Linked DNA regions of Homo sapiens: all the other regions are linked to region 1. Evidence: promoter capture Hi-C in 16 types of primary human blood cells and fetal thymus (Javierre and others, 2016). All regions are on one chromosome and are shown on one strand. The core of a region is centred on a gene start or on the middle of the fragment in contact, and the rest is flanking DNA. Distances in the headings are between cores, read along the strand shown. Region 1 holds the start of HERC5 (HECT and RLD domain containing E3 ubiquitin protein ligase 5). Region 2 has its middle 62 kb from the start of ABCG2. Region 3 has its middle 44 kb from the start of PPM1K.

Region 1 (2,890 bases), core at 275-2,774:
CCTTATCTGCCTCCAGCATCTATCGATACTATAAAGAATAATTCATTTTAAATATAATGAAGACCAACAATTATAAAACTTCCAGAAGGTAACAAATGAGGAAATCTTATAATCTTGAATTTAGCAAAAATGTCTTAAGTAGGACAAAAAAGGTATGAACTATGTAAAAGAAAAAAATGGATAAATTACATCAAAATTGAAAACTTCAGTGCTTCAAAAGACACTTAAAATGAAGAGGCAAGCCACAGACAGGTAGAAAACATTTCAAAACGTATAGCTAATAAAGAACATGGTATGAAACATATAAAGAACTCAATAATATATAAAGAACTCTTAGATAAAAAGTCAAGCTAGCTAATAAATAAATGGTCAAAAGATTTGAATACACACTTCACAAAGAAGAGATCCTCCTGCCTTGGGCTAAAAAAGGGCTGGGGTTACAGGCAGGAGCCCAGGCCCAGCCTTGTCAGTTGATTTTCGGTGACCCTTCAGAGGGCAAAGGGGAAGTTTTCTCCTGTTCCCTACAACCGACAGGCCCATCAATTGGTGAATGGATAAATAAACTGTGGCTTACCCATATGATAGACTACCATTCAACAATAACACAAATGAATTACTAATTAAACACAATAGTATGAATCTCAAAGCATTGTGCTAAGTTAAAAAAGCCAGACATCACTTAGATATGGTTCCGTTTGTATGCATTCTAAAAAAGGCCTAAAGCACATCACTGTTGCCAGGCACCCGGGAATACGGGAATACGTAGCGGAGCGGGCACGAGGGGGGTGGGGGTGGGGGTAGGGGTGGGGGGGAGGGTAGCTGCCTGCATAGCTCTGCCCAGTTTTATGCCGGTTTCAGCCCGGCGCACAACGCATTTTTTTTTTTGATACATAGTCTCGCTCTGTCGCCCAGGCTGGAGTGCAGTGGCGCAATCTCGGCTCACTGCAAACTCCGCCTCCCGGGTTCCCGCCATTCTCCCACCTCAGCCTCCCGAGTAGCTGGGACTACAGGCGCCCGCCACCACGCCCAGCTAATTTTGTTTTTGTATTTTTAGTAGAGACGGGGTTTCACCGTGTTAGCCAGAATGGTCTCGATCTCCTGACGTCGTGATCCGCCCGCCTCGGCCCCCCAAAGTGCTGGGATTACAGGCGTGAATCACCGCGCCCGGCCGCGGCGCACAACGCTTAACAAACTTTGGCTTCCGTTATCCCTCCCTCTGGAAATGCGTGTGTCAGGGTGCCTCCTAGTGGAACTGCAGCGTTTCCTCGAAAGCCATTCCGTCCAGGAGTTAAGGTGGCCGCTGCCCGCCCGGGGACACTTTCTCAGTCCAGCCCATCGGCCTTTACCCCAGCCAACGACCTGTTGCCTTTGGCCGCCTGCCAAGTCACTCTCATTACAGTTTCCTTTTCCTTTTCGATTCCGCCCCCTAAAAACAACAACAAACATTATGTTTCGTTTTCCACTGGAGCTGCAGGCCCCGCCCCCAAACAGCACGTGGGGGGCGTGGCGTCCCGGCAGGGGCTCAGTAGCTGAGGCTGCGGTTCCCCGACGCCACGCAGCTGCGCGCAGCTGGTTCCCGCTCTGCAGCGCAACGCCTGAGGCAGTGGGCGCGCTCAGTCCCGGGACCAGGCGTTCTCTCCTCTCGCCTCTGGGCCTGGGACCCCGCAAAGCGGCGATGGAGCGGAGGTCGCGGAGGAAGTCGCGGCGCAACGGGCGCTCGACCGCGGGCAAGGCCGCCGCGACCCAGCCCGCGAAGTCTCCGGGCGCACAGCTCTGGCTCTTTCCCAGCGCCGCGGGCCTCCACCGCGCGCTGCTCCGGAGGGTGGAGGTGACGCGCCAACTCTGCTGCTCGCCGGGGCGCCTCGCGGTCTTGGAACGCGGCGGGGCGGGCGTCCAGGTTCACCAGCTGCTCGCCGGGAGCGGCGGCGCCCGGACGCCGAGTGAGTGGGGCTGGTGTGTGAGGGCTGTGAGGGCTGTGAGGGGTGAGGGCTGAGGGCTGTGAGGGGCGGGCAGCCGGGGGTCCGCGCCTGAGGGAGGAGAGCCCAGAAGGCCGCAGACGCGCGCCTGGCTCGGATAGTTTCGCCGACGGCGCACCTGAGCTGTCTTTTATCCCGGTCAGTGTCAGGCGCGGGGTGAGCGGGATACTGGCGACCAGCGGATCCTCCGCTCAGCAAAGTGGCCGGTGCGGGGCATGCGGGCACCGTCTTCATCCTTTTAGCCAGTCTGGCTTTCTCATAGGTTTCTGTTCAAGTTTGTACCCCCGTCCCCCGCCCGCCGCATCTCCCACTGTCTCGTTTTGAGAAAGTAGTCACTGCTCCAACTTTGGGAGTCGTTCTCAGTGATGGGATTTTACCTTGGCCTTCAGTTGCACTTCTCCCACATTCTCATCGAAGTGGGGGAAATAGTTGCCCGCGTTCTTTAAAATTTTGCCCATCTGTGGAGTGAAGAAATTGGTATCTTGCTGCGAGTTTATTTTGCGTTTAACTACTGGACGTTTGCGTTCCTTTTTCGGTAAATTGCCTGTTTATCTTTGCCTGGCTTTTAGAAATTTGAGTTGTTAAATCTTTTTCTTATTTGTATGGAAGAGGTATTTGAATATTGAATAAGAATAGCCTTTTGCACGTCGTACATGTAATATTTTTCTCACTTTGCCTTTTGTGCATGTTGTTTTTAGTGCATTTTTTGGGGGGTAGTCTGTCAATTTTTTTGTCTGTTAAGGCTTATGGGTTTTATGTTAGGCTGGAAAGCTATCCACACTCCCAGTGTTTTAAAAAATGTACTCATTTTTGTAGTAATTTTAAGGTTTTTTTTTTTAAGTTAAAATTTTTCGTACGCTTGGAATTTTCAGTACTGAGGTAGGAGGGGAGCTAGATTTATTTGCTTTTCCAAA
Region 2 (2,890 bases), core at 133-2,632, 240 kb before region 1:
CCCAATAAACATTTCTTGATTGACTTGAATGACTATCATGAAAGTTCTCAGAGAAGAGTAGACAATATCTCTAGTCTATTATCTTTACCTACATCATTGGTTGGTTGGTAAACTTTTTCTGTAAAAGGCCAGATAGTGAATATTTTAGGCTTGTGGGCCATGCAGTCTTTTTCCAATCACTCTATATTGGCATTGTAGCACCAAAGCAGCCATTGACGGTAGGTAAATGAACAGGCGATACATAGAAAGGAAATACGGGAACTGCTGAGGTCCTGGGAATTGGGAACCTAAGCAGGGAGTTGATGTGAAAAGGGAAATATTTTACACAGAGGTGCTTGTACACTTTTCTTCATGACTTCTCACTCCACTATCACGGCTAATACTGCTTTGAAGTTAAATGTTCAGTTTGATTTTTACTTTTGAGTATTGTACATTTAAAATTCCCACAAAGTACATTTACTAACACAACCTCCAGGTGGAGCCCTTTCTTTTTTCTCAGTACACTGTTCCGCAAGTATTCACTGAATAGCTACCATGTGACAAAAACGAAGTGTTAGGATACAGCTTTGAATAAAGCAAAGATCTTATGCTCGAAAAGCTTATATTCCAATGGAGAAGACAGATGATAGCACGTATAAAAAAGGTAATTTCAGACAGTGATATGTTCTACAAGGAAATTACATAGAGCAATAGGAGAGGCTTCCCTGAGGACATGCTATTTCAGCAGAAAAGTGAAGAATAAGTAGGAGGCAGACATGCAAATACCTGAGGGTAGAGTTGTTTTATTTTCTTCTACTGTGGTAAAATATTCATAATATAAAAATGTACCATTCAAATTTTTTTTTTTTTTTTTTTTTTTGAGACCGAGTCTTGCTCTGTCACCCAGGCTGGAGTGCAATGGCGCGATCTCCGCTCACTGCAAGCTCCGCCTCCCAGGTTCACGCCATTCTCCTGTCTCAGCCTCCCCAGCAGCTGGGACTACAGGCGCACAGTGCCACGCCTGGCTATTTTTTTTTTTTTTTGTATTTTTAGTAGAGATGGGGTTTCACCATGTTAGCCAGGATGGTCTCGATCTCCTGACCTCGTGATCCACCCGCCTCGGCCTCCCAAAGTGCTGGGATTACAGGCTCAAATAGTTTTTAAGTGTACTGTTTTATGGCATTAAGTATATTCATTGCTGTGCAACCATCACTACCATCCATCTCTAGAACTTCTTTCATCTTCCAAACTGAAACTTCTTGCCCATTAAACAACTCTTCACTCCACCCTGTCCTCAGTGGCAACCATTCTACTTTCTGTCTCTATGAATTTGACTACCCTCACTACCTAATATAAGTGGAATCATGTAGTATTTGTCCTTATTTCTCTTAGCATAATGTCTTCAAGGTTCATTCATGCTGCAGTCAGAATTTTCATCCCTTTTGAGGCTGCATAATCCTCCATTCTCTGTGTATACCACATTTTGTTTATTCATTCAACAGTTGATGAACATTAGGGTTGCTTCCACTTTTGGCTGTTGTAAATAATGCTGCTGTGTATAAACATCTGTCTGAGCCTCTGCTTTCAGTTCTTTTGGGTATATATCTAGAAGTGGAATTGTGGGATTGTATGGTAATTCTATGGTTAGTTTTTTGAGGAAGCACCATACTGTTCTCCACAGTAGCTACACCATTTTACATTCCACCAACAGTGCACAAGAGTTCCAATCTCTCCACATTCTTGCCAACAATTGTTATTTTCAATTTGTGTGTGTATTTCTTTCTTTTTCTAAAATATCTAAAATGTGTTTATTGGGGTGGCTTCCCATTTATCTTGATTCAAAGTGCTTTTACTGCTGCTTCCTCCTGAAGGAGCATCCTTCTGTCAGCCTTGCTTTGCCTCCTGTAGACTGACAGAGAACGGTAGACCAGTGATATGGTTTGGCTATGTCCCTACCCAAATCTCATCTTGAATTGTAGTTTCCATAATCCCCATGTGTCATGGGAAGGACCTGGTGGGAGGTAATTGAATCATGCGGGTGGTTACCCTCATGCTGTTCTTGTGATGGTAAGTTCTCATGAGATCTGATGGTTTTATAAGGCACTTTCCCACCCCTCTTTGCTCAGCACTTCTCCTTCCTGATACCATGTGAAGAAGGACATGTTTGCTTCCCCTTCTGCCATGATTGTAAGCTTCCTGAGGCTTCTCCAGCCCTGTAGAACTGTGAGTCCATTAAACCTCTTCCGTTTATAAATTACCCAGTCTCTGGCTGGGTACAGTGGCTCAAGCCTGTAATCCAAGCACTTTGGGAGGCCAAGGTGGGCGGATCACTTGAGGTCAGGAGTTCAAGATCAGATTGGCCAACATGGTGAAACTCCATCTCTACTAATAATACAAAAATTAGACAGGTGTGTTAGTGTGGACCTGTAATCCCAGCTACTAGGGAGGCTGAGGTACAAGAATCGCTTGAACCTGGGAGGCAGAGGTTGTAGTGAGCTGAGATCATGCCACTGCACTCCGGCCTAGGCAAGAATGAAACTGTGTCTCAAAATAAATACATAAATAAAATAAAAATAAACTACTCAGTCTCGGGTATTTTTTCATAGCAGCATGAGAACGGACTAATACAGTAAATTGGTACCGCAGAGAGTGGGTTGCTGCTATAAGGATACCCAAAAATGTAGAAACGACTTTGGAACTGGGTAACAGGCAGAGACTGGAACAGTTTGGAGGGCTCAGAAGAAGACAGGAAAATGTGGGAAAGTTTGGAATTTCCTAGAGATTTGGACGGCTTAGAAGACAGGAGGATGTGGGAAAGTTTGGAACTTCCTGGAGACTTTTTAAATGGTTTTGACCAAAATGCTGATGGTGATATGGACAATAAAGTGCAGGCTGAGGTGGTCTCAGATGG
Region 3 (2,890 bases), core at 241-2,740, 220 kb before region 1:
CAATTTCTTTGTTAAACTTATCTGACAGAATTCTAAATTCCTTTTCTGTGTTATCTTGAATTTCTTTGCATTCCCCCAAACAGCTATTTTGAATTATCTGTCTGAAAGGTCATATATCTCTGCTTCTCCAGGATTGTTCCCTGTTCCCTTATTTAGTTCATTTGGTGAGGTCATGTTTTCCTGGAAGGTCTTGATGCTTGTGGATGTTCATTGGCGTTTGGGCATTGAAGAGTCAGATATCTATGGTAGTCTCTGCACTCTTTCCAGGCATTTAAAAAGACTTGGGTGTTGAGATCTAAGACATATCTACATTAGGGGGCATCTCAAGCCCAGTAACACTATGGTTCTTCCAGACTCATAGAGGTACTGCCTTGATAATCTTGAATAATATTTGGAATAATTCTCTGGATTACCAGGCAGATTCTTGTTTCTTTCCTTACTTTCTTCCAAGCAAATGGAGTCTGTCTTTCTGTGATGAGCTGTCTGGAGCTGGGGGTGGGGTGACACAAGCACCCCTGTGGCCACCACCACTGGGACTGAGTTGGGACAGACCTGAAGCTGGCACAGCACTGAGTCTCACCCAAGGCCTGTTGTAACCAGTACCTGGCTACTGCCTATGTTCACTCGAGGCCCTAGGGCTCTGCAATCAGCAGGTGGTAAAGCCAGCGAGATTTGTGTCCTTCTCTTCAGGGCAGCAAGTTCCCCTAGACCCTATTCTTTTCCAGAGATGCCATCCATGAACTAGGGACTAGAGTCAAAAATCTTAGTAATCTACCTGGTGCTCTATTCTACCACAGCTGAGCTAGCACACAAGTTATGTGACACAGTTATTTCTACGCTTTCCTCACCTTTCTACAGGCAGAGGAAACTCACCCATGGCCATCACCTCCACAGGCCCAAGGGGAGTGCTGCCGGGCTACCACCGAGGTTCACTAAGGCCCAAGGGCTCTTCAGTCAGCTTATGCTGAAGGCTGCCAGGTCTGGGACTCACTCTTCAGGGAAATGGTCCACCTTCTGGCCCAGGGAAGGCTTAGAAATTCCATCTAAGAGCCAAGGCCTCTAATTAGGGGCCCCAAGAGCCCACTTGTTACTCTACCCCACTGTTGCTGAGCTGGTACCTAAGGTGCAAGATCAAGTCCTCTTTACTTTTCCCTCAGCTTTTTTCAAGCAAAAGGAGTCTCTCACCATAGCCACCATAGCTGGGACTGTGCTGGTTCACATCTAAAGCCAGCATATCTCTGAGTCTTACCCAAGGCCCATGGCAAGTACTGCCTGGGTGCTGCTGCTGATTATTCAGGGCCCAAGGTCTCTTTAATCAGCAGGTGATGATTCCTCCCAGGATAGGTCCTTCCTTTCAAGGCAGTGGATTCCCTTCTGGCCTAAGGTATGTCTAGAAATACTGTCTGGGAACTAGGGCCTGGAATGGGGGCCTAATGACCCTGACTAGTGCCCTATCCTACTGCGGCTGAGTTGGTATCCAAGTTGCAAGACAAATTCCTCTTTACTCTTTCCTCTCCTCTCCTCAAGCAGAAGTAAGGCTTCTCCTTTGCAGCTGAGGGCTGTGCTGCCTGGTGTTTTGGGAGGGGTAGTGCAAGCACTCCTGTAGTTGCCCTGGCTGGTGTCTCAGTAGGTCACATGTCCCTCATGTCCACTGGCTACACGCCCAACTCAGCACTAAGACTTGTGTAGGAGTTGCAGTCCTTATTGCCTAAACTGCCTTTCAAGTTTATTTAGGGCCCCAGAGCATTTTAGGTCATAATGATGAGACTTGCTGGAACTCAAGTTCTGACTGTTGGGATGGGCCATTCCCCTCTGGCTAGGGCTAGTCTCAGTGCTCCCTCAATGGGCAGGCATCATTTGAGTTCAGCCCAGTTTTGCTTTCTGTTGTGACAGGGCAGCTTTGAGTTCAATGCCTCTCACAATCACTGCACTGTCCCTCTCCCAAGTGCACAGATTCTCTCTCTGCACCTACGGCCATCGCCAGAGGATAGGGGTGGGGTGCCATCAGCAATTCAAGACTGTCTTTCTTGCCCTCTTCAGTGCCTCTGTCAGCAATATGAAGTTAAAACCAGGCACTGTGAGTGCTCACCTGATTTTTCATTCTTAGGAAGGTGCTTTATTTTATATTATTTCTTTCATGACTGCCTTGCCTGAAGAAAGATGCTTTTTATGTATAGATAGTTATTAAATTTGGTGTTCCTCTCTGGGGACAATCAGTGGAGCCTTCTATTCACCCATATTGCTCTGCCCTCTCTCTCTGATTTTTTTTTTTGTTTTTTAAAAAATGGGGTTTCACTCTGTTGTCCATGCTAAAGTGCTGTGGCATTATCACAGCTCACTGCAGCTTCAACCTCCGGAGCTCAAGCACACCTCAGCCTCCCAAGTAGCAGGGACCACAGGTTTGCACCACCATGCCTGGCTAGTTTTTTAAATGTTTGACATTTTTTATACAGATGGGGTCTCATGTTGGCCAGGCTGGTCCCAAACTCCTGGGCTAAAGCAATCTTTCCACCTCAGCTTCCCAAAGTGCTGATATTACAGGCATGAGCCAATGCACCTGGCCAGGGTTTTGTAAATATGAGGATCATTTTTTCATTTGGTAAGACTCCCTCTTTCCTCATGGTAGTATTTGCACTTTAAGTATCCCGGAAGAGAAAGTACAAAATGCCAATAACAACATAGATAACTCTTTAAAATAAACATATTTTAATCACACAACATAAATCTACATACATTTGAAATATGTGTGAGATTATTCTTTTTCCCCCCAGAAATGGGGTTTTGCTATGTTGCTCAGGCTGGTCTCAAACTCCTAGCCTCAAGCAATCCTCCCACCTCAGCTTCCCTAGTAGCTGGGATTACAGGCATGCCCCACTATACCTGGCAGATT

The links. The method cuts DNA at HindIII sites, captures the fragments that hold promoters and counts their contacts. A CHiCAGO score of 5 or more calls a contact.
Region 2: a contact is called between a fragment that was not itself captured here and the fragment with the promoter of HERC5 in region 1, in 16 of 17 cell types (megakaryocytes, naive CD4 T cells, M2 macrophages and 13 more). The highest score is 12.8, in megakaryocytes.
Region 3: a fragment that was not itself captured here is called in contact with the fragment with the promoter of HERC5 in region 1 in 2 of 17 cell types (total CD8 T cells and total B cells); the score reaches 6.4 in total CD8 T cells.

The regions. Positions count from the first base shown.
Region 1 is chr4:88,455,595-88,458,484 of GRCh38, forward strand. It overlaps HERC5 (HECT and RLD domain containing E3 ubiquitin protein ligase 5), which reads left to right and starts at 1,525. Exons shown (of 23, transcript NM_016323.4): 1 at 1,525-1,940. The coding sequence starts at 1,676. All of the region lies in intron 1 of LOC102723458 (a long non-coding RNA gene), which reads right to left. RefSeq lists an enhancer at 1,155-1,584. The HindIII fragment of the contact is 3,677 bases long and covers 1-2,890 here.
Region 2 is chr4:88,218,741-88,221,630 of GRCh38, forward strand. It overlaps a transcript of ABCG2 not described here. Among named protein-coding and RNA genes, the nearest start is that of ABCG2, 62 kb to the left of the region's middle. The HindIII fragment of the contact is 1,573 bases long and covers 597-2,169 here.
Region 3 is chr4:88,238,779-88,241,668 of GRCh38, forward strand. No RefSeq gene overlaps it. Among named protein-coding and RNA genes, the nearest start is that of PPM1K, 44 kb to the right of the region's middle. The HindIII fragment of the contact is 4,762 bases long and covers 1-2,890 here.